7 separate regions of the Homo sapiens genome follow, and all the other regions are linked to region 2. The links are contacts of gene promoters, found by promoter capture Hi-C in blood cells and fetal thymus (Javierre and others, 2016). All regions are on one chromosome and are shown on one strand. Each heading gives the region's core, a stretch centred on a gene start or on the middle of the fragment in contact. The rest is flanking DNA. Distances are from core to core; before and after follow the strand shown.

Region 1 (3,682 bases), core at 86-2,585, 570 kb after region 2:
AATAATAATATAGCAATTATTAGTATTATACTGGAAGAACTAATGTGATGATGCTGTTCTCTGATAAGGAGTTACGTGTGGTTAGGATTCAGAAATTGGTCTCACTTCTTTAAAATATACTTCCCCTTTTTTGTTTTCATAATTCATTCAGGATTTAGATAGCACGATAGATAAAACATGATCAACTTCTGTAGTTGCAATAGGTTGGAGGTTTGCTGTTACTAGAAGTCGTGTCTAGGTAGGCCTAGGCCCCAGGTTGCATAGCCTGCTTCTTCACATCTGTTGGGAAAACCTGAATTTCACCCTCCTTGATTCCTTAATTCCCTTTTCTCTGGAACTGCGACAGGGAAATGCAGTCCTCTCTACTTCCTTGTAGGGAGGGGAGAACTTCTGTCTAAATGGGAGAAGTTTGTGTGTGTAATCAGTTTCAGTATTGGTGAAAGCCTGTTGAAAACTGCAGTGCATGGGATGAAGGCATCCGAGGCCTGGGCCCTGCCTTGTGGTTGGACTGTGGTCATGAGAGTGGGAGTAGGAGCTGATTCTGTGCCCACATTGGGGTGTGCCAGGCTATGTGGTGTGCCTTCACTGATTCCACATGGAATGCACTATTTCTTTTTTTCTTTTTCTTTTTTTTTTTTTTTTGAGATGGAGTCTTGCTCTGTCACCTAGGCTGGAGTGCAGTGGCGTGATCTTGGCTCACTGTAACCTCTGCCTCCTGAGTTCAAGCCATTCTCTGCCTCAGCCTCCCGAGTAGCTGGGATTAATAGGCGCCTGCCACCATGCCCGGCTAATTTTTCTATTTTTAGTAGAGATGGGGTTTCACCATGTTGGCCAGGCTGTTCTTGAACTCTTGACCTCGTGATCCACCCACCTCAGCCTCCCAAAGTGCTAGAATTACAGGCGTGAGCCACTGCACCTGGCCTGGAATGTGCTAATTCTTTACTCTCCCTCCCTGTTGCCCTTTACCGCCCCATTTCCTTGGCCACTGTTTCTGTGTCTGGGCTTTTGGGTATAATGGCAAGGGAGGTGAAAATAAAAATCTCAAAAACCTGAGTGTTTCCTTATTCTAGATCTGTGCTGCTTAGTTTTCCATTCAGAGTAGTGTGAGATATAAAGATGGTAATACTGAGGTCAGGGCTCATGTCCCACAGTGGCCAGGCAGGTAGTGGGAATGAGTCGGGGGATGCTATGTATAAGGCAGCCTGGAGGTGGTGGGGGTTGAGGTGTCTGGGAAGTGGGCAGACCCTGTCTGAAGAGGGAAGCCTCTCAAATTCTTAGATTCTGCTTGGGATCCACTGTTCCCTGATCATCCAACATTTCAAGAGAAGCTGGATGTCAAGATCTGCATGTAAACTTTCCTGATTTTAAAATACTGTGCAGCCAGGCAGTGTGTCTGCTGGCCATATTCACTCAGATGCTTGTCACTTTTCAATTCCTGGTACATGTCTTCTACAACATGTACTCACTTATTTGCTTGTTTAGTGTTTCAGAGCCATTTCTAGTCTGGGTGATGGAGGTGGCAAATCCTGACATCCACACAAAGGAGTCGTTATGTGGACAGTGGGACCCCTGGTTTCCACATGCTCACTGAGCCTGTCACTTGTGACCTCACCTCTGAGCAGCTGGAGGAGGAGTTGCTCTCTTTGCTTTTCAGAGGCCTCAGACCACTTCCTTCCTCTTGGCATCTCTCTGTTTGGGATGAGTGTGAGCACGGAGGCAGCTGCATCTTTAGGGTGCCTCAAGGACATGGATAGAAGGGACAGGCTAAAGGTGGCAGGAAGAGCTGCCTTTTCACTTCTCTCTTTGGGGGTCCCAGGAAGCCAGCTTTATCCTGAGTAATGAAAAGATGGAACCGGCTGCACTGGACAGAGTGTTCCTGCAGCAGCATGTGTGTTTCCTCCTTCCCTGCTGCTAAAACCACACACCCCAGACGGGGAAACTTACATATTTATTGTTTGGATTTGTTTTATGCTTAGACTATTCGTGCAGAATTCTTTGAAAGGTTGTGATGAGTTCATAGTGATGTTTTGAATGGCAAAGGCCCTAAGTTTAGAAAATGTGCTTTCCTCACCTGTGGCACAGAGTGTCCCAGGCCCAGCCAGGTTTGTATCAGTGCAGCTGGCGAACTCTGCTTCACCACCACGATCCAGAGGACAAAAGCTCGCTTTCTGTCAGTGCTGGGCTTGTTCCACATTTGTCTTCCTGCAAGCGTTTCCCTGGGGTCTATGTTTCTTCTTCTCCTCACCTTATGCACATTATCAGCCCCAAGTACCATGCATGGGGCCCAGGAGATGCTCAGTCGCATTTATTGAATTCATTTTTTAGACCTCATTAAAAAGCTACTCGGGCAGTGAACTGGAAGGGGAAGCACCCCTATAAGATTTGGCTTGGAAAGGTAGAGATGAATACAGTCATGGAATCTGTATATATCAGTCTTAGACGAATGCTTAGATTCAGATGTGGGAGAGAGTACGTGCAGGTAGAGGTAGGGGTGTGGCTGACAGGGGAGCTCTCTGCTGTGAAATCAGCAGTTTAGTGTATTTCTTTAGGGACATTGGACAATTCACGTATTTTTGATGAGTCTCAGTTTCCTCATTTTGTAAAATGGGCATGCTATTTCCTGACGATGTGAAAATGACATGAAATATTTGATTGATAAACCATTCAAATATTTATAGTTCCCAGCATGTAAATGGGTACTTAATAAACACTAGCTGCTATTATTACTGACTGATGTATATAGAGTTAGTTAAAAACTGCAGAATTGGAAGGAATATGATCAGAGACTCATAGTGGGCCCCTTGGGGCTACTGTGGGCACACACAGATACCCATCACGCAGTCTACTAATCATAAGGCACAGCCAGGATCTTTTGGGCTTTTTACATTTGCTGGTTTTCATGAAGTCTTTACTCTCTGTAGGGAGGCAGTTGGATGGCATTGATCCACTCAGGATGGGGTAGCTGCAGGACCATGTTGTAAAGGAAATCATGTTCATTTAAATGCTTAGGTTTTGTTGTTGTTTAAGGAAAAAAGTCAGTTTCTAAAACCAAGACTGCAGAAAGTCAAATAAGGCAAAAGTCAAGCAAGCAAGGAAAATGTGCATGGATGGCTTTCTGTTGAGATCCAGGTGTGCTGAATTTATGTTGTTGATGCTGATCACAGCCCAGCCAGAAGTGTATTGTGCTTCAGAAGCTAACACATTTCCTACTGGACACCCAAAGGAAGCGTTGCTAGTCTTTTACAACTAGTATTTTCTTATTTTTTGAAATAATGTGTTAGTAAAAGTTTGGTTTCTAGTAACATAGTTGGGAAAACAAAATTGTGTGTCCAGTTATTTAGACTTGCTGTCACTGAGAAGGGCCTGTCACACATTGTTTAGATTGGAGTGGGCCTCTTGATTTGTTTTTGAGTATTATGCGACTTTTTTTTTTTTTTAACTTTTTTGTGTGTGTTCTTTTTAGACAACGAGCCCTGTTTTAGTGTTATGTCATCTTATTTAGTTTTTCCCTGGCCTGTGAGATGCACGTTATTCTTTTTCTTACTTTCTCTTTTTAAAAAATCTTTTACTTTTTTGACAAGGCAACCAATGCTAGAGAGGATGAGAAATTGTTGAGGCTGATACCCAACTCATTGGTGGAAGAAAGGAATTGGAATCCTAAGTAGTTCCAATTAACAGTACA
Region 2 (3,842 bases), core at 612-3,111:
TTGAAAATCACTGAAGCCTCGACTTACTCACTGCTGAAAAAGGAGGACTTTGTATATTTTTAAATGAAGAGTGTTGTTTTTACCTAAATCAATCTGGCCTGGTATATGACAACATAAAAAAACTTAAGGATAGAGATAGAGCCCAAAAACTCTCCAACCAAGCAGACAACAACGTTGAACCCCCTTGGACACTCTCTAATTGGATGTCCTGGGTACTCCCAATTCTTAGTCCTTTAATACCTATTTTTCTCCTTCTTTTATTCGGACCTTGTGTCTTTCATTTAGTTTCTCAATTCATACAAAACTGCATCCAGGCCATCTCCAATAATTCTATACGACAAATGCTCCTTCTAACAACCCCACAATATCACCCCTTACCCCCAAATCTTTCTTCAGTTGAATCTCTCCCACTGTGGGTTCCCACGCCGCCCCTAATCTCGCTCGAAGCAGCCCTGAGAAACATCGCCTATTATCTCTCCATACCACCCCCAAAAATTTTCGCTGCCCCAACACTTTACCACTATTTTGTTTTATTTTTCTTATTAATATAAGAAGACAGGAATGTCAGGCCTCTGAGCCTAAGCTAAGCCATCATATCCCCAGTGACCTGCACATATACATCCAGATGGCCTGAAGCAACTGAAGATCCACAGAAGTGAAAATAGCCTTAACTGATAACATTCCACCATTGTGATTTGTTTCTGCCCCACCCTAACTGATCAATGTACTTTGTTGATCAGTAATCTCCCCCACCCTTAAGAAGGTTCTTTGTAATTCTCCCCACCCTTGAGAATGTACTTTGTGAGATCCAACCCCTGCCCCCAAAATATTGCTCTTAACTCCACCGCCTATCCCAAAACCTATAAGAACCAATGATAATCCCACCACCCTTTGCTGACTCCCTTTTCGGACTCGGCCCGCTTGCACCCAGGTGAAATAAACAGCTGTGTTGCTCACACAAAGCCTGTTTGGTAGTCTCTTCACACGGACATGTGAAACACTGTGGTCAATTTTTTTTCTTTTTAATAATAATTCTTTTTTAGAAATATGTGCTTAAATAATTGTAAGCCAGGCATAGTTGCCTGTGCCTGTATTCCTAACCACTTGGGAAGCTGAGGCAGGACTGCTTGAGCCCAGGGGTGTGAGGCTGCAGTAAGCTATGATCACGCCACTGAACTCCAGCCTGGGTGACAGTGAGACCGTGTTTAAAAATATATATATACAGATGAAATGATATGATGTCTGAGATTTGCTTCCAAATATGCCTAGGAAGGGAAGAAGTGTTTAGAGATATAGACAAATCAAGATTGTCAAAATGTATAGTAACTGTTAAAGCTTGCTAAGGTAGTTATTCTATTTTTGGATATGTTTGGAATTGTCCAAAGGTTTCCTAAAACTTATGTTTAATATTCTTTCAGGAGAAAGCAATATTGTAAGATCAAAGAAAAGGCCATAACAGCGCACCCAAAAAATTTCAGCATTACCATTCTGAGGGTCAGGAGTCTCCTCCCTTCCATCCGCCAACACTTGAATCAGGACTATAAAGTAGGTGTTTCCAAGTCTCAGGCAGGTAAATGGATAAATTGCAAAACTGGATGCAGAACTCACATCTGCCTCATACATAGGCCCTGTGACACCCCACCAGCTCCTTTGCTCCCTTTCTGCCTTTCTCATGCCGTCCCAGAGTCTTGCACACTACCAAGATGGTGGTGAGTCAGGACAGTGAAACAGGTCGGCTCTTCACTCCAGGAGTGTGCGCGGGCGCCGGGCCGCGCAGGCGCATTACTGCTCCCCTCCCCCGACCTTGGCTGATCGCGCCTGCGCAGTGGGGAGCAGCTCGCTCCTGGGCTTTGGGCTGGCTGCAGTCTGTCTGAGGGCGGCCGAAGTGGCTGGCTCATTTAAGATGAGGCTTCTGCTGCTTCTCCTAGTGGCGGCGTCTGCGATGGTCCGGAGCGAGGCCTCGGCCAATCTGGGCGGCGTGCCCAGCAAGAGATTAAAGATGCAGTACGCCACGGGGCCGCTGCTCAAGTTCCAGATTTGGTGAGTATGTGCACTGGGCCCCGGCCACCCCGCCGCGCCTCTGCTCGGCGCCATTGGCTACGCGAGGCCCCGGCTTCGCGGCCTAAATGGCCGCATCTTCGCTGGCCTCGTAGAACTGTGCCGGCGCCCTTCCACAGCCAGCCTTCTCGCGGCCCCTTAGCGCGGTCAGGCCGCCCTCCTTTTCCAGGTATAACTGCTCACTTGTTTTTTGCCTCCTAGAACAGTGGGAATGGGGAAGGAGGGCGCGAGAAGGTTAAACGCTGAAAGGCGAAGACTGGGGGACACCTGTTAGTACGGAGGACTGGTTGGCGGCGTCACGCCATAGCCACCCCGGCTGCCTGCGGAGATGGGGATGAGTAGGCGCCGCGTCGGCGGAGGAGCGCCAACCGTTTGTCAGTTCACTTTTTCTGCCCTCTTTTCCGGGGTAATGCCGGGCGGCTTCGCTGCCTGGCTAGATGAAGGTTAATTCGGGTCATTGGAGAGGATCCGGGAGTGACAGACGCCGTTTTTCTCCTGAACTTGCTGGGGGGACTGTTGAGTTTGCGAATGGGGCGTCTGACAGCTGGAGGGGGTGGAAGGAAGGTCTGGGGATGCTGGTTCTGTTTGCCATTTCCAAAGTGTCAGAAAAGGAGCACGTTGTTCTTCTAAACATTGACAGTTCGCTCGCATTCCCTCCTCACCTGCCTCCCAGGAGTTGCCTGCTCTGGCATCTCTTTCTACCTTTCAGTTGTCTTGTGTATCCAGCAGATCTCGGCAGTTTTCGACAGTGTTCTTTAAATGATTTTGTTTTTAACCTAATCGTTAGAAGCAGGGCAATGATGCATTTTATACGGTAAGTGGGGTTGCGGGTGGGGATTGAAAGGCTCTGAAGATGGGGGAAAAAACACCAAAATTGTAAAATTATAGAAATGAGAATCTTACACCTCCAAAGATGACATTTTCTCAGGATAAACCGACCATCCCAGAATAGCCAGATTAGTAAATCATCAGAGTCCGGATACATTGGAATGTTGGTGTTGGACATCATTCATTTAAAACCTTCTTTTAAGAACTTCATGTATTAGTATATTAAAGTTTTGATTTTCTACTTCTCCAACTAGCTTTTTACTTACTCACTGAAGACCAAGCAAACCTTTAAAATAATTTTTAAAAATCGGCTTAAGGTGATGTTTGAGTTAGAAAATAAGATGGTGAGACTTTATTTTTTTGAGTGAAAACTAAAACATTGCAATTTCTCCTGATTAAAAACAAACAAGGCCGGGCTCGCTGGCTCACGCCTGTAATCCCAGCACTTTGGAGGCCGAGGCTAGCGGATCACCTGAGGTCGGGAGTTCGAGACCAGCCTGACCAACATGGAGAAACCCCCATCTCTACTAAAAATACAAAAATTAGCCTGGCGTGGTGGCGCATGCCTGTAATCCCAACTACTTGGGAGGCTGAGGCAGGAGAATCGCTTGAACCCGGGAAGCGGAGGTTGCGGTGAGCCGAGAACGCGCCATTGCACTCCAGCCTGGGCAACAAGAGCGAAACTCCGTCTCAAAAAAAAAAAAAAAAACCTCCCTGTACAATGTACTATGTTTCTGGAATATATCATCTTTCATGTAATACTGCAAATGGGAGAATGGTTTATCCATTAACTTTTTTCCTTAATTTTTAAATTAGAAGGTGGTAATCATCTTACTAACCTAAAGATTGTTAAGGGTTGTGATACTTACGGATTTAAGTGTTAAAAAATTGCAGTTTTCAAATTATTTAATTTTTCTGTATCCTACTTTTATCTCTTGGTTGTATTTTTGCTTTTC
Region 3 (3,705 bases), core at 336-2,835, 590 kb after region 2:
TCACCAAATGTACTGTGGTTCTCTTAAGTCATTTACATTAGAGAAAACTGGCTGAATGGCATATGGAACTCTCTGTACTATTTTGCAACTTCTCTGTAAATCGGAAATTACTCTAATAAAAAGTTTATTTAAAAGAAAGAATTAAGGGGGGTGATAAATTAAGCAAAGATGGCAAAATGTTGAAAGTGTTTGAAACTGGTTGAATGGTTGAGGGTTATGTGTTCCTTTCTTGGGTAAACAGAGCTTTGCATGTCTCTCTCCCAGGTGTCTGGGTGTCAGAGCTGGACACTAAGCCTCAGCTTCTTTATTCTGTTGTTCCTGTGACCTTGGTTTTACAGCCTTTCCCTGCATTTAACATTCTACTTCCTTGGAAGAAAGAGCTTAAATGATTTTCAGTGACCACATGTCATAATGAATCATGAGATAATTTAACTATAACAATTCATGAAAGAACTGCTAGACAATTGATATTGTAGGATACATTTTTTAATAGCCTTCCACCACTGGTTGCCCTAAACTCCCTGTTACCATGAGTTCAATTCAGAAGAAGCCAAAGGATATGCTAATATAACACTGACTTTAGGAATGCTACTGTCTGTTTTTTTTCCCTTAATAAAAAGAGAAAATCTGACTAGCTTCTCATTGCATGTGAGGAGACTATAAAAATATGGTTAAGAAAAGTGTTTTCCATGTCCCCATCTGTCATATGGGGCCCTACTAAATGAAGACCAAAGAGAAGAGGACTAAAGGGGGCTTGACCAAAGATTCAGAAAAACAGTTTCATGATGCTATTCTGTGAATAATACTTGATCTGCCCATTAGTGAACCATGTTTCCTAGACTACCAGCAAACACAGGTTCTAGTGGATAGGCATTCTACAGCCTGCAACTGAGGTAAGTCATTTACACTGTGTCAGATGTGTGAGGCTGCTGGAGTTTCTGTCATTACCATTAGCTAGCTAGAATTGTATAGCATTATCTTGTTGTATGTTTTGTAATAGGCACTTCATGCATTTTCTCATTTATTATTCACTGCAGAGTCAGAATATTTTTATGGAATTGTAGATAGGATTTTCAAGCTTTAGAAAATAATTTGTGAAATGCAAAAATGAGTTTGGAATCAAACTTGTTTTCCTAGCTTTCAGGAACACCATTTCTTAATCATTGCAGCTAATGCAAATGGATTTACCAGCGGTTTTTATATGGGCTTATTTTACTAATGAAATAAAAAACACAAAGTCATCATGTATGCTTATCTAAATTTTTCCAATATTCTTTTTCCTAATAAGTCTTTTATTTAATGCTGTGTATTCTTTCTGCATCACCAGCAGTGGAGAGAATTTGATCAGAGTTGTGACTCTGAGAGCTGGAGTCAGCTTATACTTTATTGTTATTTATTTATTTACTTATTTATTTGAGACAGAGTCTCGCTCTTTTTGCCCAGGCCGGAGTGCAGTGGCGCAGTCTCAGCTCACTGCAACCTCTGCCTCCCAGGTTCAAATGATTCTCCTGCCTCAGCCTCCTAAGTCGCTGAGATTACAGGCGTGCACTATCACAGCAGGCTAAATTTTGTATTTTTAGTACAGAGGGGGTTTCATCATGTGGGCCAGGCTAATCTCTAACCCTTGACCTGAGATCTGCCCACCTCAGCCTCCCAAAGTGTGTGAGCCACCACGCCCGGCTGGAGTCACCTATACTTTAAACTGGGGCCCTACGTGGAGTCAGGCTCATCTTTCTGGACCTGGGTGGCACTGAGTAGCTCGGCCTGTGCTACATTCCTAACACGGCCTTGCTATGCGAAGTCAGTGTATCTGTTTTATAAAGACCATCTGACTGGTGCTGTTTTACCATTGATGTGCTATCGATGTGATTTTCTAGTTCCAAAACACTAGTTTCAGTAGTTAGTATAACTTAACAACTCCCTCTGAAATGTTACAGGGCCTCTGTGTTTCATGTTACTTCAAAATAGAAATGAGAAGTCACTAAATGTATTATTACTAACATCAGGAAGCCTTTATTATAACCTACAGGTAGAATATAATTACAAATAATACATTAAAGATTGTCTATATTTTTCAAGCCTTTTTATAAATAAAAGCTTTTGGTTATTGTGTTAGAAAAAAATTCGACATTAAAAATTGGAGGAATAATGAGTTGAAAGATTACCATCTTTTGAAGTGATAGATTAGAAATAAAATAGGCACAAGTTGTTATATGTAAGCTGCATTTTTTAAAAGTAATCTGAAAGGCTTTAAAATTATGTTGCTGGTGGGCTTTCTGGTAACTTACATGGAAATTATTTTTTATATTTTTATCAAGAAGTCAGTTCCAGGCATTTAAATGAATAACTCATGAATACCTTTGGGTCTATGTCATGGACCTCTTTTGGATTTCAAGGATATTGCAGGATTTTACATTCGTTCAATGAGACTCTTTAGTTTTTTGTACAAATATTTGGGTTAATGAGTAGCAGCAAGCCTAACAATAAAGCTTGACTTGCATTTAGAAACAGGATTTCTAAGTAAACCTGTCCATATTTGCTAGCTAACTGTATTTTTTCATACTGAGTTTTTTTTTGTTTTTTTTTTTTTTATCTTTCAAAGCTATAATTAACTTTATGGTCCAGTAAGGCCAGAATTGGTAGCACAAAAAATCCTGTCTTTTATGCATTATTTTCACATCTTAATTTTTCTTTCTGAGCCTTGGTCTCTTTAGGTGAGGCAAAAGTCTCAGTGACCTTTGAGCGGAATGCTTTTGAGAGGTGATAGTACAGGATAGGATCAAAGCACAGGTTCGACACAGCCAGGAGCAGTGTAGCCTCTTTGGCTTTGAAGAGTGAAATCCTGGTTGAGCAATCAGTTATGACTTCTGTCTGGCTGAGGGTATACGGGATTCGGACAATGTGGTAAGGAACAAAGCATATGATGTAGCCCGTGGTCACTAAAAGTATGTTGATGAGAGCCTTTTTCACATTTGGGTAATTTTCATTATCTTTGTTTCTGTAGAGCTGTCGAATTACAAGGCAATTGGATATTAAAATGATGGCTGAGAAATTTAAAAATATTGCTACACATATGAAATTTGTCAGCAAATGCCAATTTCTTCCAAATTCCTTTTTAAACTCCATACAACCCACATTTGACTTTTCCTTGATGTCTTTGATGGGAATCATCATATTTGGCACCATTATAAGAAGGACCATTAGCCACACAACGGTTGATATCATTTTGGCAAATCCGGGTTCTTGTATTCGGTAGATCTTGCAGCTGTGTGTCAGCTGAAGACAGCGGTCAATGCTGACAAATGCTAAGAAGATAATTGATAAATACATATTGATATAGATGAGGCAGGCTGTTACTTGGCAGTGGAATATCTTCAGCTTCCAAGGTGCCACACCCAAGTCAACAACAATTTTCACTGGTAATGCCAGAGTAAGCAGGAAATCGGCTGTAAGCAAATTAATTAAGTAGATGCTCACACACCTGTGATTCGTATTCTTCTGTATAAAAGCCCAGGTTGCAAAACAACTTCCAATAATTCCAACAAGGAAAACTAAATAAAAAAAATACGTGAATGGCTCCAGATCTTTATAAACTGGGCAGAAGAACGAACTGTTTGTCATCTTGAGGGAAAGTAAGGATGACTGCTTATTGAAAAGAAAAAATTTCTAAGACTCTGTAAAAGAAACAAGGAAAGGGAGGTTAGT
Region 4 (4,023 bases), core at 1,365-3,864, 640 kb before region 2:
CAGGAGATGAGTATGATGTATGTGCCATTTGTTTGGATGAGTATGAAGATGGAGACAAACTCAGAATCCTTCCCTGTTCCCATGGTATGAGTAATTACGTACTGCTTTGAATTTACATATAGTAATTTATATTTAGGTTCCATATTCCAGGGGAAGAGATGGAAAATAGTTATTAGCACACCAGAAGCCAGGCCCTGTACTAATTAGTGGTCTCATTCAAGGATGGAGGTGTATTTATAAAAATTTATAAACTTTCAGGCCGGGCATGGTGGCTCACGCCTGTAATCCCAGCACTTTGGGAGGCCGAGGCAGGCAGATCATGAGGTCAGGAGATCGAGACCATCCTGGCTTACACAGTGAAACCCCGTCTCTACTAAAAATACAAAAAATTAGCTGGGTGTGGTGGCGGGCGCCTGTAGTCCCCAGCTACTAGGGAGGCTGAGGCAGGACAATGGCGTGAACCCAGGAGGCAGAGGTTACAGTGAGCTGAGATTGTGCCACTGCACTCCAGCCTGGGTGACAGAGCAAGACTCCATCTCAAAAAAAAATAAAAATAAAAATAAAAAATAAACTTTCTTCCCGTCCCTACATGATACATACAGAACACTGAATAAATATGGCAAGAGATTAAATATAAAAGTATCAACCGCAGCATACTAACTAAAGATGTATATTTTGCTTCAACAGCTTATCACTGCAAGTGTGTAGACCCTTGGCTAACTAAAACCAAAAAAACCTGTCCAGTGTGCAAGCAAAAAGTTGTTCCTTCTCAAGGCGATTCAGACTCTGACACAGACAGTAGTCAAGAAGAAAATGAAGTGACAGAACATACCCCTTTACTGAGACCTTTAGCTTCTGTCAGTGCCCAGTCATTTGGGGCTTTATCGGAATCCCGCTCACATCAGAACATGACAGAATCTTCAGACTATGAGGAAGACGACAATGAAGATACTGACAGTAGTGATGCAGAAAATGAAATTAATGAACATGATGTCGTGGTCCAGTTGCAGCCTAATGGTGAACGGGATTACAACATAGCAAATACTGTTTGACTTTCAGAAGATGATTGGTTTATTTCCCTTTAAAATGATTAGGTATATACTGTAATTTGATTTTTTGCTCCCTTCAAAGATTTCTGTAGAAATAACTTATTTTTTAGTATTCTACAGTTTAATCAAATTACTGAAACAGGACTTTTGATCTGGTATTTATCTGCCAAGAATATACTTCATTCACTAATAATAGACTGGTGCTGTAACTCAAGCATCAATTCAGCTCTTCTTTTGGAATGAAAGTATAGCCAAAACATAAAAAAAAAAAAATCCTCAGTATAGCTTGCAATTAAGACCTAGATCACAGTATTTAAGTGTTTTGCGTTTTATACATGAGGTCAGTGCTACAGCCACCTAGCATGAACTAACCCAGCTTCCACCTCCATAAAGTTACCTAGAGTTGTTGAGTTGGAATATGTTCTGGCATTTACCTGACCTGCCAATCATTAGGGAGAGGCAACAAGGTAATTCAGCCTTTCCTCCTATCAGCACAAAGAAACTCAAAGCTGTTTTTTCCCTTTCTGTTCCAAAGCAGTCTTATCCTGACAGGAGCGGTCTATACTAGTGCAGATTTCAACACTTTTTTTTAACGTTTTAATTACTATAGTGTTATGTAGAGATTTGATTGAGCAGCTAATGTTTCTGAACTTTACTTACTAATTTTCAGTGTCCTTAAGGGTTCTGTAGTGTTATCAAAGCAAAAAGAAAATGCTGCATAAAAATACCAAACTTCAGCAACTGTTAATACTCAGATCATATACCTCTTAATAAATAGCATCTTATGCTAATTAGCCCTGCTAAACTATGTACAGAGGAAACTGTTCAAGTATTGGATTTGAAAGTAAGTGACTTATGTTTAACAGAACTAATGATGTATTGAAACACTGTATTATGAAAAGCTAAATTATACATCATTGTAACTATGTAGAAAGTGTAGACTAATGTATAATCAAAATGCTAAGGATTTTTATATGGCCTTGTATGAGGGGAGTTTGAATGTTAATAAACATGTTTTCCACTTTAAGATCCAGTAAATGTCTGTTCTACTGTAGTATTACTTACCATATTAGCCTTATTTATATATATCCTATAAAGTGATAATGATTGAGGTCAGAGAAATCACATCACCTTAGGACTTTATACAAGGTAACTGACCATTCACATGCAGTTAGGTAATATCCCAAAAAGTTTAGACTGCTGCCAAAATTATTCCAAAAATAAACAGTGTACATTTTGGTACCCTGTTGTAAATTATGGTATATCGAGGGAAAATTTCACTTTCCAAATTGCCTTTTAAAAAATAATGTTCATAATCAGGAAAAAAATAAATAGGTATTTCTACTTTGGAAAATAAACGGTTGAATTCAACATCAGCTATCTGATACCTCATCCCTCTTCCCCTTTTTTATAAAAAATTAAAGAACCACAGGCCTGAGAAACAGGACATCAAAGGTTACCACGGTAGTTAAGCAGAGTTTGGAATTTGACATAATTGTATGGCCCTAACCTTTTTAAACCTGCTTGGTCATTTGCATAATTTTCATTTAACCTAAGAGGGTGTGAGGAGAAAACATTGAGCTCAGTATCTGGCACATCAATGCGCAATAAGTAATAGCCTTCAAAATAATTATTATTAAATAAAAACAAACCTAAAACAATATTTTAAAATAGGAAAAGGGAAAAAAGTAAAAAGTCACGGTAATGGTTAAGTATGTATTAGATGTTATATTCCCTCAGTCTTTAATCCAAAGTTTAGAATAAGGACCTGGTCCCTTTATGTTAGGAGTTTTATGGAAAAAAAAATTTTTTTTTGAAATTCCAAATAATTACTAACTAACTGTAAAAAAAAATCTACGAAGTGTCTTATTTAGCAGCACTGGCTAGGGCTGTTACTAGGTTCTGTGAATGTTCACTTGAAATGTTCTATAATTTCATGGTATAGCTTTTCAAACAGGACAGTAGGTGCAATTAAAATCCAATTTCTATTTAAAAAACATTTAAAACTTTCTTGATTACAAAAGTAATATTAACACTAGAAATCAAAATATAGTCACCTGGAAACTTTCACTCCAGAGATAAATTTATCTTAATATATTGCCTTCAGAAATACATATGTAAAATACATGTATATTAATACTGTATGTATGTGCACTGTCATGTGACATGTTTATATCCTTATATTATTAACATTCATTGGTAAACATTCTTATGTCATTCTTCAATGACTATTTTGTCCTATGGACTTAAAATCATTTATTCAAACCATACCCCTTAAAAAGCTGAACTTTGTAGATATTTTCCAAGTTTGGATGTCATAAGTAATGCAGCATGATGGACATTCTGGTATACAAATTTGTATAGCTTCATTTCCATATGCTAAATTCCTAGAACTAAGTACAAAGCAAAGTACGCATGTATGTATTTCCCTAAGTATTTTTCTAATGAAATTGTGGGTAGAAAGCCAATGAATAGTTTCATTATATACTATTTTAGTGATACACTCACCCTTTACCACCTTCTCTACCCACAACCTCCTCTCTGAACACACACATACACACTGCCCCTTCACCTACTTACAGATTAATTAAGAGTTTCAGAATTTTGGTCACTGCCTTCTATAATTGGTTACCCTAATAGTTCTTTACATGTAAAGTGTGAATGTGTATTATTGTAAAATCTCAAATCATCACAACTCAACCACCAAATTTTCATTTGCCCCGTCTTTTGGCCTTAACAGGTCAAGAAACTGATACCAGGTTTTTATTATAGTTTTACAATTTCTAGGTTATGTCCAACTACCAAAATAGCCCCAAATCCTTTATCTCCCATATTTGTACATCCCTGTGTATGTACAACCATATTCACAACCAGTGCCTGACAACTAGTCAAAGAAAAAAAAACTTTCATTATGCATAGTATATTTTAAGACAGGTTAATTCCTATTCCCTAACCCATTTTTTCTCAAAAGGTA
Region 5 (4,084 bases), core at 882-3,381, 680 kb after region 2:
AAGCTGACATTGTGGGTCTGTGCTAATTCTCCTGAATGTAATTTAATTTATAATGTTTAAAGAATTGTAAGTAATTTAGCTGATTAGTCATAGACTATAAATAAGTAGCATATGAACTCAAATATTTGCTATGCCTAGGACAGATATTTCTGTGATTTACAATTTAAAGGCATTTTATTTTAGTAGGTGTTAATGGGGTTAACTTATCCTAATAATGACAAAGATAAAAACTTTTACCTATATAAGTGTATGTACAAGTAAATGCAACTATATATCTGTACACATATGCAATTGCAAACAAAGACATACTGACCTAAGTATTATGCTAATCGATTTTGTAGTTTTGAGAAGCAATTTTAATACACATTTACGAGCTTTTGAAATGTTTGTCCTGGATGAATACCTTTTAAACATTTTCCTTGATATCTCTTCATCACAGATATATTTTGACAGCCACGATTGGAAATCCTAAATCATAAATGATAATATTTCAGTATTGGATCCCCATATTAGCATGGGGAAATATATTAATATACCAATTATAGTTGTCAAACAAAAAGTAACCTACTGAGAAAAATGTGAGTGGCAATGGTTCAGTGTTCCTCAGCTTTGTTGCTGCCCAGCTCAGAAATCTTTTCTGTTCCCATGCACCATTCACATACATGCAAGTCATTTCATGGAAAAGCTGTTTTCTTACCTGCGTCTAGGCCTTCATCTGTGAGAGTCATGCTTCACTCATTTTGAAATACCTCTCATTGTAGGCTCCAAGGTAACACTGTTACAGAGTTCTTGCTCATCTTCAACTACGGATGAAAATCAGGAACTTGACAGAAACCACAAGATAGTGGGTCCCTCTGCTGCTGTTGTCAGATAGAATTTATTGAAGACTGGGACGTGGAAACAAAGAGGAAGGAAGAGACGTTTTAATCTCTGTGGGTGTTAGGCTGACTTCTGAGCTAGTTCCTTTCCTCCAGTAATGCAAAAACAGTCCTGCTTTCTTATTTCTCCTCCTACTTTTCCCCACATCCCTACATCATCTGATGCACAGCCAGGCAAAAACCTGTTTTCTTTTCTAACCTTTGCCATTGTCAAATTCAACATGTGGTATGAGGTGGAGAACTGATGTGTAAGATATGGTTCTTTCTGAAGCACCCTCAGAAAATTGTCAGCAGCTTCACAGTATAACGTGCAGAGATGGGTAGTTGGAGCTACCTGGAAATGCGGAATTAACAGAATAAAGAAGTATTTTGACACCAATGTCGACATATTCTAGATAAGAGGTGTTGCATTGTCATTTTTCCCACATTAATTTTCCCATATTTGAACATTACTGATAAATAGATCACAAGTAGGACTTCAGATAAACTCCTCGTGTGTTAACATTTTGGTGTTTGTGCTGTGTTACTATTTTGAAAGTCTTCATATTTTTAGTTCCTTTCAGGCTCTGTAATATAATTGGTGATGTCCTGCAGTGCTCCACTGTCTTTCCCATTGACTATTAGTGCCATTAGATTTGGAAGTTTTCAGAAGATGGCTACAAAGTCCTCTTCAAAGTGTATAACTCAGAACCAGAAAGAAAGAAGACAAGGGGCTGAAAAGCTTACTTTATAAGGTTCCTGCATTTTAAGTGTATTTACTTAGGCTGTTCCATTGCCAAATTATGGGTAACAACTAGTAAAGTTCAGCTTGCCTTAAAAACATAGCTATACATTTAGTTATAATAATTATAACTGGCTTATGACATGCCCGTTACTATTCTAGTTGCTTTATATGTACTTGCTACGTAGGAGGCAGTGTTCTGGACATTGGAGATGGAGTAGTGACTGACACATACCCAAACAGTTATTTCCCTCATGAAGAGTATTTTCTTACTTTCTGTCTCACAGACTTGCTAGTCACTGTTGATCCTTGGCAAAGACCTGTGAGACACAGAGCTTGTTTAGAGAAGTTCGCCATTTCTCCCTGCCAGAGGGACTCTTCTTCAGACCCCCAGCGGGCCCCAATAGTCCTCACTGATGCTTTGATTGAGGGGCTAAGAATACTGATGTGCATAGAGAGGCTTGTTAGCTTCAGCTGCAGTGAGATCTGGTAGGTAAATAAACTTAAGGACAAGTGGATGTGAGGAGGAGCCGCTAGAGCCTGGTTATTACCAGGGCACATTGCAGAGTCCTCCAGATGTAAACATTTTGCTGATTAAATTGATGATTTGGCAGGAACCGTATCTCTAAGGTGCGACTCTCAAGACTTCCCTGATTTATTGCAGGAGATGCTGTTTACTCTGACAGTCTCAAAAACACCCATTAATTGTTCCGGGTCCCTTTTGTGCTTCTTGACTTCCCCGTGGGGTGTTTCACATAGATGTTATTGAGTATGACTGGGGAGAACATGATAATTTGTTGCTTCTTGACTTCCCCGTGGGGTGTTTCACATAGATGTTATTGAGTATGACTGGGGAGAACATGATAATTTCTTTGACTGGAGCTGCTTGCTTGCCTCTTAATGCCAGGAGTTGCAAAGTCCAAGGCCAAAAGGATAGCCCTACAGGTGGTCCCCTCGTGGCAGGTGGTACAAATGGGTTGGACTCTGTGTAAGACACTTGGGAGTAGAGGGAGTATGGAGAAATGGAAAGCTAAAGGGCCCACCCAGGGGGACAGTTGTGTCTGGAAGCTTGCCAGAGTCATGGGCCTCATCTTGGGATGGGCCAGTGTCTTCAGAACATTAAACGCTGATTTGCATGTACTGTTCTAAACACTCTGTGTGTTTTAGCTTGATTACTCACAATGGCTCCATGAGTAAAGTAGGTCTGTCTACTACTTCTTCCCCACCTTTTTCTTAATAGACAAGGAAACTGAGGCATGGAGATGTTACATCAGGTTGCTGGAGCTGGGCAGATCCTGGAGCCTGTGCACTGCTACTGCCTTTATATGTCTCCTCTGATTTCATTTGTTGGTGTCTAAATCGAATACCTTACAAACCAGTGTAGACCTGATACCCTGTGGGCTAAAACAAAACCTGAGTGTGCACTGTATTGGGCTTGTGAGCAGTCAGCTTGTGACCTCTGTTCTGTGGTTTTATTGGCACGTAGCAGTACAAGGATGGTGAGGGGTGGGTAGGGGGCAGACAGCTAGGCACTTGAAAGGAAAGCTCATCTGGAAAGATTGGATCGTCTCAAATGCACATACTCGTACACTCGATTGAAGCGTACTCTGTGCCTACTAGATCTTTTCACAGCCAAAACACCTGGCAACCCTTGGAGAAGTAACTATTCCTTTTTTTCACAAGTAAGAAAATAGAGCCTCAGAAAATTTAACAGTTGTCTAAGCTAGAAAGTAGCAGGACTGGACTTTGAAGTAGTCTTTAGGTTGTGCTGTACATTTTGTGGATATGCTTAAATCACAGTTTAGCTTGTACACATTTTCCTTTATTAGAATTGGAAGTAAGTATTAATGTTTGAAAAAATATTTTAGCCTGACAATATTTATTCTATCTTCATATGTTTTTGAAATTAGATATTTTAAACTAGGCACGGTGGCTCACGCATGTAATCTCAGCAGTTTGGGAGGCCGAGGCAGGCAGGTCACAAGGTCAGGAGCTCCAGACCAGCCTGACCGACATGGTGAAACCCTATCTCTACCAAAAATACAAAAAAAAAAAAAAAAAAAAAAAAAAAGTTAGCTGGGCATGGTGGAGTTCGCCTGTGATCCCAGCTGCTCAGGAGGCTGAGGCAGGAGAATCACTCGAACCCGGGAGGTGGAAGTTGCAGTGAGCTGAGATTGCGCCACTGTACTTCAGCCTGGGCAACAGAGTGAGACTCTGTCTCAAAATAAATAAATAAAAAATAAAAAGATATTTTATTATGACTTTTAGCAACGTAGGTAATGACTCTTTTCAACACTAGACACCAGGCATAATACAACATAGCCAATAACGACATTATAATTAAAATAATAGAGGGCCTGGTCCTTGTGTGCAAGAATCTTTTAAAAAACAAAATCTAAAATAGTCAATATTTTCCTTTTATCTGTGGTGTTTTGATTTATGCTAAATAGTTCTGAATTCCCATTTCCTTTGGTGGAATCCTAAG
Region 6 (3,778 bases), core at 786-3,285, 610 kb after region 2:
CCTGCTTCTTCAAATCAGGAAAAAAACCTGACTTTTTATTGCAAACAGCTCTCTAGCCCTTCATCAAACTGTGCCTGCTTTCAAGTTAGTCTTTAAGGACAGTGTTGAAAACAATTACATACTAGATTCTGGTATTTAGAGAAAGAAGATGCCTGAGTGAGTTGTCTTTGATTATGTTGTGTTTTATTTACTATTTAAATTTCTACATTAACTGACCAGACTAGTGGTTATAAACTTTAACTTATTTTAATATAATAGAATTGAATAATTGTATGTATTAATTTTTTATTAATAGAGAATAGAAAGGTCAGTATTAGAGAAATTACTGATGGGTATGTTTTCTTTGATGTTACAAAAAAGCATGGAAACTTATATTTGAATTTTATTGAACTAAATTGGATGGCAGTGCTAGAGATGATATTTATGATGAGGGCACATATCTTATTGATTTCTGTTATGTAATTGAAGATGACAACATGCACACGTGGTCTTTCTTTGGAAGAGGGTAGGAACTCACAAAGTATCTGTGCTTTCAAGTGTTGTATTTCCTCTTTTGATTCTGGAAATGTCTAGGTCATTCTGAGCTTTTAATGGAATGTGCAATTTCTTACATAAGATTTCCCTAAACGGCTGGCATAGAAAGAAATAAATAATAGGGTCCAAGCATACATTTGCAGCAGATAGTAGCAGAGTGAATTCTTTCATATACCGCAAGATTTCTTTTGACTGGCAGCTGTAATGAGCTTCGGTCTGACTCTTTGTGTAGGGGATTCTGGCAATATGGTAAGGTACAAAACAGACAAAAAACACAAACACGATGCTGAATATGTTGCGGCTAGATTTCTTTTTGACCGAAGTGGAATTCCGACTTGACTTAAGGTGGGACTTAAAGATTTTCTTTGTGATAGCAGTATAGAAAACGATTAACAAAAGAAACACAATCCAGAAGATGGCCACGAAGATGTAGTTTGATGCTTTGTGCCACTTCCGTCCCAGTTCACTTTTCAGTTCTATACATTTTATTTGTGTAACCTCCCTAACACTCTGGTTGGTGAGAATAATATTTGGAACAGCAAGGAGGAGCATGAGCATCCATACTATCACTGACAGAAGTTTGCTGTAACTCACTGACTGGATGAAAGAAGTCCAAAGAGGCTTTACAATTTTATAATATCTGTCAAAGCTGATGAGCCCAAAGAACACAATGCTGACGTACATGTTGACGTAGAAGAGCACGGCAGAGACCCTGCACACAAACACGTTCAGCTGCCAGGGACCAAGGCCTGAGTCACCAAGGATCTTGAAAGGAAAAGTCAGGCTCATCACAAAGTCAGCAATAACAATGTTCTTGAGATAGATGATGAAACTCTTAGAGCTGGGCACGTAAAAGAATATCCATCCTGACACTCCATTGAGTAGGATTCCTGCAATGAAGACCATACAGTACAGCACAGGAATGATCTGCTGAGTGATCAGGAGGTTCTGAGAGCAGGATTCATCTGGAGGCTGTGTGGAGGTTGAATTGATCATCTTGTAACTTCTGAAGGCAGAGGCCTGAAAAGAGGTGTGAACTGGTCACTCATAGGGCACTTATGGCCTCCAAGACATTTGCTGAGTAATAAGGCAAAGGGCAATGAATATAGTCAAACCTACCAAATTTTTGAAGCCACCTTTTTACTCTGTGTAAGTTAGACACTCATCCCTCCCTCCCTCTGTTCTTCCTTTTCTTTCTTTTGGTCTTCCTTTTCTCCTTTCCCTCCCTCTTTCCCCCTTTACCCACCAACCCCCACTCCTTTCTTCCTTCTCCCCTCTCCCCCTCCCTTTTCCCTCCTCTTCCTTCTTCCTTTTTTTTGGGCAATGAAAAGGGAAGAATGGAGCAGACAGGTGGCAGTAAAGAGAAACTGGAGCAGCAGGGCAGTCTCTGAGAACTTCTAGGTAATACGGAGACCAGCATGCCCCTAAAATAATAATGGTTCCCTATAAAACTCCAGAGTTCTAGGAAATACTCATTTAGGTATAATCTTAAAAGGTAGTAACTGTAAAAGCAGAATTAATGTTTTATTTTATTCAGAATCCCATGTGTAATGTATTTTTTTAAAACCTATGTTGGAAATGTGATTGTTTTTTCCTAAAAGAGAAATTTTTATGGATTCATAAAAATCATTATAAATGTTTACATATTAAGAGCTATTCAGACGGACCTTACTTTTAGAAAAGTGTATTCTACATATATGTTGGACATGAAGACAGTGTCTAACAAACATATACATTCAAATGTTAACCGGTATTTTTGGTATGGGATTATGGGTACCTTTTCAATATTGAGCTTTTTTTTTTTCCCATTGAAAAACTGATTTGCATTATTTTAATAAATTAGAATACAAATACAAACAAATGATAAAAAGTACTTTAAGCATTCTGAGAAATGCTTCCCAAAGTACATTCTACATCTGTACTATTCAGTATGGTAGCCACTAGCCATGTGTGGGTATTGAGCACTTGAAATATGGCCAGTCCAGATTGAGATGTTCTGTTAAGTATAAAATGCACACTAGACTTTGCAGACTTGGAATGAAAAAATGTAAAATATCTCAGTATTTTTAATACTGATCACATGTTGAAGTAATATTCTACAAATGCTCTATTAAATAAAATATATTATTACTCTTAAATTTAACTTAATTTTACTTTTTAAGACTCTGGCTACTAGGAAATTTTAAATTACATATGTGTTTCACATTATGGTTTTATTGCACAGTGCTGTGCTAGGTGTTATCCAGAACTTCTATTGTTTAGGAATCCTGTATATTCTTCACTGATGTCGGAAGTGTTGATTTAGGGCAGAGGGAAGACTAGAATTAAATTCAAAAGGTTATTTGATATATCGGAACAGATGTTTACTGCCCATCTTATATGTGAACAGTACCAATTATCCTGCTTAAAACCCTTTAGTAGTCTGTCCTTGCCCTCAGGAGAATGCCCTAAGTCTGTAATGTTGAAGTCCTTTCTTGTTCTGCCTCCTGCTTCCTCCACCCCCAGCACTGAGTTCCTGCTGTCCTGGGCCCATCTGCCTCCTTTTAGGTTCTGTGATTTCTCTCAGCCTGGACCTTTGCACAGACTTTCATTTGTGTGGAAAACTGTTTCCATACCTTCTTGGCTGGCTAACTTCTCTTTATCCTCAAGGCCTCAGCTTAGCTGTCACTTTCCTTAGGAAACCTCAACTTTCCTAGCCTGGTTTGGGGTGGGTTGAGTGTGTGCTTATCATCCTGTGTCTTTCTCCTATCAACACTCCTCTCTCCAGCTGTTTGTCTCTTCCACTACTACAAGCTCCTTCAGAGGAGAAAGATCATGTCATTTTTTTACTCTTGAATTCTTTGCATAATATTTAGGGCATTAGATAGTTAAAATATTTGTGAAATAAATGAATATGCACTCTGGGAATACAAGGCATGAATCCTTGCTCTTAAGATTTATTCAGGGATCAAGGGAAAGAAAGATTGTGGGAACAGTGGGTACCTTGATGTCAGAGAATGCATCTTTTTCATCTGTATTTGTGGTGCCAGCACAGTGCATATCACAGTGAATGACAAGTTAGGTTGATACATTTAAGCATGACAAAGGGATATTTTGAAATATGGAATATGAAATACAGTCACATTCCACATAAAAAATAGTACATCCATGTAAACTTGTGTGCTGCTTCCTACACAAGAATATCTTGTTTCTGCGTATTTTCCTTTCCCATATGCTTTCCTTTTGCTTTATGGCAAAACTAGAA
Region 7 (3,763 bases), core at 224-2,723, 790 kb before region 2:
AAATGTGTTTATACTAATTAGTCTTCTTAGTAATATTCCCAATGCTGACTTTTATTTATGACTTTCTTAAAGGCAGAATTGTGATTTAAGTATTGAATGTCTTTGCAACCAATGAAAAGTTAAGACTACATAGAATACTCATAGGATACACAGAAGAGGAAAGTACCTTTGATAGCTTTTATTTAATTTTTTAAAATTTGATCTTAAATTTCTTGTATTTGAATTTTATTTGAGTAGGTAATATTTGCAAGGTTCAAAATTCAAAAGGCACAAAAGGATACACAATAAGGAAAGAGTCTTTTCCCCATTGCTGTGTCCCACCTACTCAGGGCTCTCCAAGCAATCAAAGTGACAAGTTACATCCAATGGTATTCTACTAATACTCTGTGTGATAGCCTCCTCGCCACCATTTTTAAAAGATGATGTTGAAGGAGTTGAAGCCTGTAAAGGCCTTATTAAGGGTGCCTTATTATTTGAAGCAGAAGTAGTGCCTGATTCTATGTCTCCTGACATTTCTTTCAGGACTCTGTAATATTTGCCTAAGTCACACTGCTTTTGTAAGGTGGCGAGTTGGCAATGATTAATCAATGTGGATGGTACAATCCGGTAATTTAAGTTTCGACTGGTTTAAGATTGAGACAACCAGAAAGGAAGGCTTATCAGAAGGGCGGCAGGGGAGGAGATTTTTGGTTCATCAAAAGGAGGCAAGGGTTTTAAAAGGCTGACCTAGGGCCTGAATCACATGGTTTGACTTTTGCTAAGCCCCGGGGATGGCGCGTGTCAGGCCCAGAGTGCTGATGCCAGCGTGGATCCGAGCCAGGCCTCAGGGGACTGGCGTTCAGACCTCGGGCCGCTCGCATCTCTAACAATTTGAGCCCTACTTTAAGGTGTGGCCACGGTCCCCACCCACTCTGATCTCAGACTGGGCACGGTACGGAAGGCGGGCGGATGAGGCCTCGCCCTCGCCTCTTTAGTAGGTCGGGTGAGTGTAGTGTGCAGGGAAGAGACGCGTCAGCGCCAGGGCCAGGCCCGCCCGGGGGCAGCCCGGCAGCCGAATCTTGGGCTACTCTGTCCCAACAGCCGGAGCAGATCAGACCGACCGGCCCTGCCCGCTCGGTCCCGCGCCCTCCAGACCCTACGGTCTCCGTTTCTAGGGGCACATGGTTAGCGGCAGGCGCCCACAGCCAATCCACTTTGCCAGCCTGCCCCTTCCTCTGCCAAGAGCAGCTTCTTCAGCCGCGCTCCAGTTCCGCAGACGCCTGCCCCACCCTGCTCTTCCCTTCCAGGGAAGACGGATCACGCGGCCAAGAACGAGACTCGCAAACTGGGCATTTCTCCGAGCCGGGCTAGAGCAAGTAGCGAGACTCCGCGTGAGAGTGGGAAAGAGCCTTAACAGGCAACCATGTTGCCCAGTGGGTTTTCTGTGCCTTTGGGTGCGGACCAATGAGGCGCGTGGGGCGGGACTTCCGCTTCGCCTAGGTGTTGTCGTCCCTGCTAGTACTCCGGGCTGTGGGGGTCGGTGCGGATATTCAGTCATGAAATCAGGGTAGGGACTTCTCCCGCAGCGACGCGGCTGGCAAGACTGTTTGTGTTGCGGGGGCCGGACTTCAAGGTAAGACCCTGTCCGGCTTCGCGGCAGCCGGGCAGCTCGTTATCGAGCGGCCCAGAGAACATACCCCGCTTGTTGGCCCTCGAGCTCGGAGTCGGCCCTGCTGCTGAGGTCTTTGCTGCTCCTCTAGAGCTGGGTGAGAAGTCAATTAGGCTTTTTGCAAAAGGAATAAAATAGCCTTGCCCTCGGGGGACCGAGTCTCCCCTGCACTCTCATTCCGCGAGTTTGTGTGTGTCCAAAGTTGAGTTACCGGTTTTGCTTCTCTCATTCCCTTCTTGAGGCTGCAAGAGCCTGCCTGGAAAACATGTTTGGAAGGCTTTTCTTGGTCAAGTACCTGCCGCAACGTCCTCGGGCACATCGCTTGACTTTAGTTGAGGGGGCTGTTTTGTCTCTGAATAGAAGGAGGGCAGTCACTTCCTCTCTTTTACCCCCACCCCCTTTTTCTTTCCCTGGAAGCTCAGATTGCAGGTTTGGGACTTAACCCCTGCTAGGGCCAGATACTACGGTCAGTCAGCAGCTCTGCCTGTATGCTTGACTTGACTTGACTTGCACTTATTAAATAACTTTGTCCCAGAGAGAAAGAGAGAGTGGGCAGACATCGAAGCCAAACAGCAGTATCCCGGAAGCACTCATGCAACTTTGGTGGCGGCCACTCAGTTTTCTCTGCCAGTGTCTGGTAAATTCCTCTATTTTGTCCTAATCTGACAATAGTAAATAGTAAATTTCCAAAACTGTCGTTTCATCATCAGTTTCAGCACCGTGGGCAGCTGCTCGGGTCCTCTCTTGTTGCCCCAAACCTGCCCGGCTATTACTGTTCGTCAGTGATGCAGCAGAAACAGTGAAAACTGATGCATTCCTTTCAACAATGATGTGTTTGTTCTCCAAGGAGAACATCTGCAGTTTTTGATACAATATAAATAAGTAAGGTGGCTGTGCCTCCAAAGAGTTCTTCTGGAGAAACAGATCAATTCAAGATTTAAGGTAGGGCTTTCAAGAGTTTATGCTATTTAAGCACAGTTTTTTAATGGGTGGACATTAGCTCCATCTCGAAGTAACAAAACTGGACAGTGATAGCAATTAAAAAGAACTTTAAACAGGAGGTAAGAAGTGTAGTGCAGTGCTGTAGTGCAGGAAGTGTAGTGCAGTGCTGTAGTGCAGGGCCCATAAGGATTCATTAATAGATTTTAGAATCAATTTAGTACATTGACATAAGCTTTATAAAGAAAGAAAAAATACCAGAGGACATTGTATGGAATAAAAGTAAATATTATGGCAAGAAGCTTTTGTTTCAGTTTTTAACAGTATGTGTGTGTCAAGAGGAAGATGGAAATGTAAAGTGTATTATGGATTATGGCAAAAACAAATGTTTCAAAATACTAAATTCCAAATTTGGGAGTCAAGCTGGGTTCAGCTCTGCCATTTACTAATTCTGTGACATTTTCCGTAAATAAGAAATGAGTTGTTATGAGGATTAAATGAAACAAAATTTGTCTATTACATAATTTTTTTTTGTTTTGTTGGAAACTGTTGGAGAGAGGCACAGTTATTTTTCTCTATGTAGGGAATGAGAACTGTTTTATTAGTTTTTTTTTTTTTAACCTCTGCCTTTGTTTGAAGCTAGGCAGCTTGACATCTTGTCTCTATGTGTAATGCAAATCATAGACAGAATCTTGGTTTGAGAGGTATAATACTGAAGGGTTTGGGATAAGTTCTCATCTATGCTTGTATAAAGCTAATTTTCTCAATAATTTTGGAGGGGCATAAATTGTTGCTAGCATTCAGCTTTCTTCCCTTGATATTTTTCTGCATTCCAGAATAACGTAGATTTATCAGAACTTTTACAGGCACTAACTTTAGCTAAGTGAGGGTAGGCCTGAGGGTATGACTAAAGGGATAGATTTATGTCTTTGAGTTAAGTTGGCTAGGAAGGCATTTTATGCCTTATAGTTCTTGCCATAAGAGATGTATGAAATGAAATAGTTTGGTCAACTATCATGGTATGTTTTGCTTACTTCATGTAGGTGTGACCTAGAAATGGTTGGCATTTAAATAACAATATTTTTAAATCTGGGAATTGATGTTTAGCAGGAGGCAAATGAGTTTCAGTCAAAACAGTGTTTTGCACCATTTGTCATGTTTACCATATGGCATTGC

What was found. The method cuts DNA at HindIII sites, captures the fragments that hold promoters and counts their contacts. A CHiCAGO score of 5 or more calls a contact.
Region 1: a fragment that was not itself captured here is called in contact with the fragment with the promoter of SELENOT in region 2 in 1 of 17 cell types (fetal thymus); the score reaches 5.7 in fetal thymus.
Region 3: a contact is called between a fragment that was not itself captured here and the fragment with the promoter of SELENOT in region 2, in 1 of 17 cell types (total CD8 T cells). The highest score is 5.2, in total CD8 T cells.
Region 4: a contact is called between a fragment that was not itself captured here and the fragment with the promoter of SELENOT in region 2, in 2 of 17 cell types (total CD8 T cells and total CD4 T cells). The highest score is 6.8, in total CD8 T cells.
Region 5: a contact is called between a fragment that was not itself captured here and the fragment with the promoter of SELENOT in region 2, in 3 of 17 cell types (total B cells, naive B cells and total CD8 T cells). The highest score is 7.9, in total B cells.
Region 6: a fragment that was not itself captured here is called in contact with the fragment with the promoter of SELENOT in region 2 in 3 of 17 cell types (activated CD4 T cells, total CD4 T cells and total CD8 T cells); the score reaches 11.4 in activated CD4 T cells.
Region 7: a contact is called between the fragment with the promoter of RNF13 here and the fragment with the promoter of SELENOT in region 2, in 11 of 17 cell types (fetal thymus, total B cells, monocytes and 8 more). The highest score is 13.4, in fetal thymus.

Annotation. Positions count from the first base shown.
Region 1 is chr3:151,169,652-151,173,333 of GRCh38, forward strand. All of the region lies in intron 11 of MED12L (mediator complex subunit 12L), which reads left to right. Among named protein-coding and RNA genes, the nearest start is that of GPR171, 32 kb to the right of the region's middle. The HindIII fragment of the contact is 5,138 bases long and covers 1-3,682 here.
Region 2 is chr3:150,601,460-150,605,301 of GRCh38, forward strand. SELENOT (selenoprotein T) reads left to right here and starts at 1,862. Exons shown (of 6, transcript NM_016275.5): 1 at 1,862-2,040. The coding sequence starts at 1,904. LOC124900547 (a long non-coding RNA gene) reads right to left here and starts at 1,724. Exons shown (of 2, transcript XR_007096128.1): 1 at 1,485-1,724. RefSeq lists enhancers at 1,651-1,730, 1,851-2,000, 1,973-2,746, 2,021-2,320. The HindIII fragment of the contact is 3,294 bases long and covers 1,334-3,842 here.
Region 3 is chr3:151,195,766-151,199,470 of GRCh38, forward strand. The region is part of intron 16 of MED12L (mediator complex subunit 12L); the gene reads left to right. It overlaps GPR171 (G protein-coupled receptor 171), which reads right to left. Exons shown (of 3, transcript NM_013308.4): 3 at 2,067-3,674. The coding sequence starts at 3,621. The coding sequence ends at 2,662. Among named protein-coding and RNA genes, the nearest start is that of GPR171, 5.6 kb to the right of the region's middle. The HindIII fragment of the contact is 1,019 bases long and covers 1,077-2,095 here.
Region 4 is chr3:149,960,053-149,964,075 of GRCh38, forward strand. It overlaps RNF13 (ring finger protein 13), which reads left to right. Exons shown (of 10, transcript NM_183381.3): 9 at 4-84; 10 at 688-2,087. The coding sequence ends at 1,052. Among named protein-coding and RNA genes, the nearest start is that of PFN2, 8.8 kb to the right of the region's middle. The HindIII fragment of the contact is 7,519 bases long and covers 1-4,023 here.
Region 5 is chr3:151,277,590-151,281,673 of GRCh38, forward strand. All of the region lies in intron 16 of MED12L (mediator complex subunit 12L), which reads left to right. P2RY14 (purinergic receptor P2Y14) reads right to left here and starts at 953. Exons shown (of 3, transcript NM_014879.4): 1 at 698-953. The HindIII fragment of the contact is 1,068 bases long and covers 1,598-2,665 here.
Region 6 is chr3:151,212,787-151,216,564 of GRCh38, forward strand. All of the region lies in intron 16 of MED12L (mediator complex subunit 12L), which reads left to right. P2RY14 (purinergic receptor P2Y14) reads right to left here. Exons shown (of 3, transcript NM_014879.4): 3 at 1-1,554. The coding sequence starts at 1,530. The coding sequence ends at 514. Among named protein-coding and RNA genes, the nearest start is that of GPR171, 11 kb to the left of the region's middle. The HindIII fragment of the contact is 6,767 bases long and covers 1-3,778 here.
Region 7 is chr3:149,811,742-149,815,504 of GRCh38, forward strand. It overlaps RNF13 (ring finger protein 13), which reads left to right and starts at 1,474. Exons shown (of 10, transcript NM_183381.3): 1 at 1,474-1,612. RefSeq lists enhancers at 831-1,342, 1,208-1,317 and a silencer at 848-997. The HindIII fragment of the contact is 6,716 bases long and covers 1-2,820 here.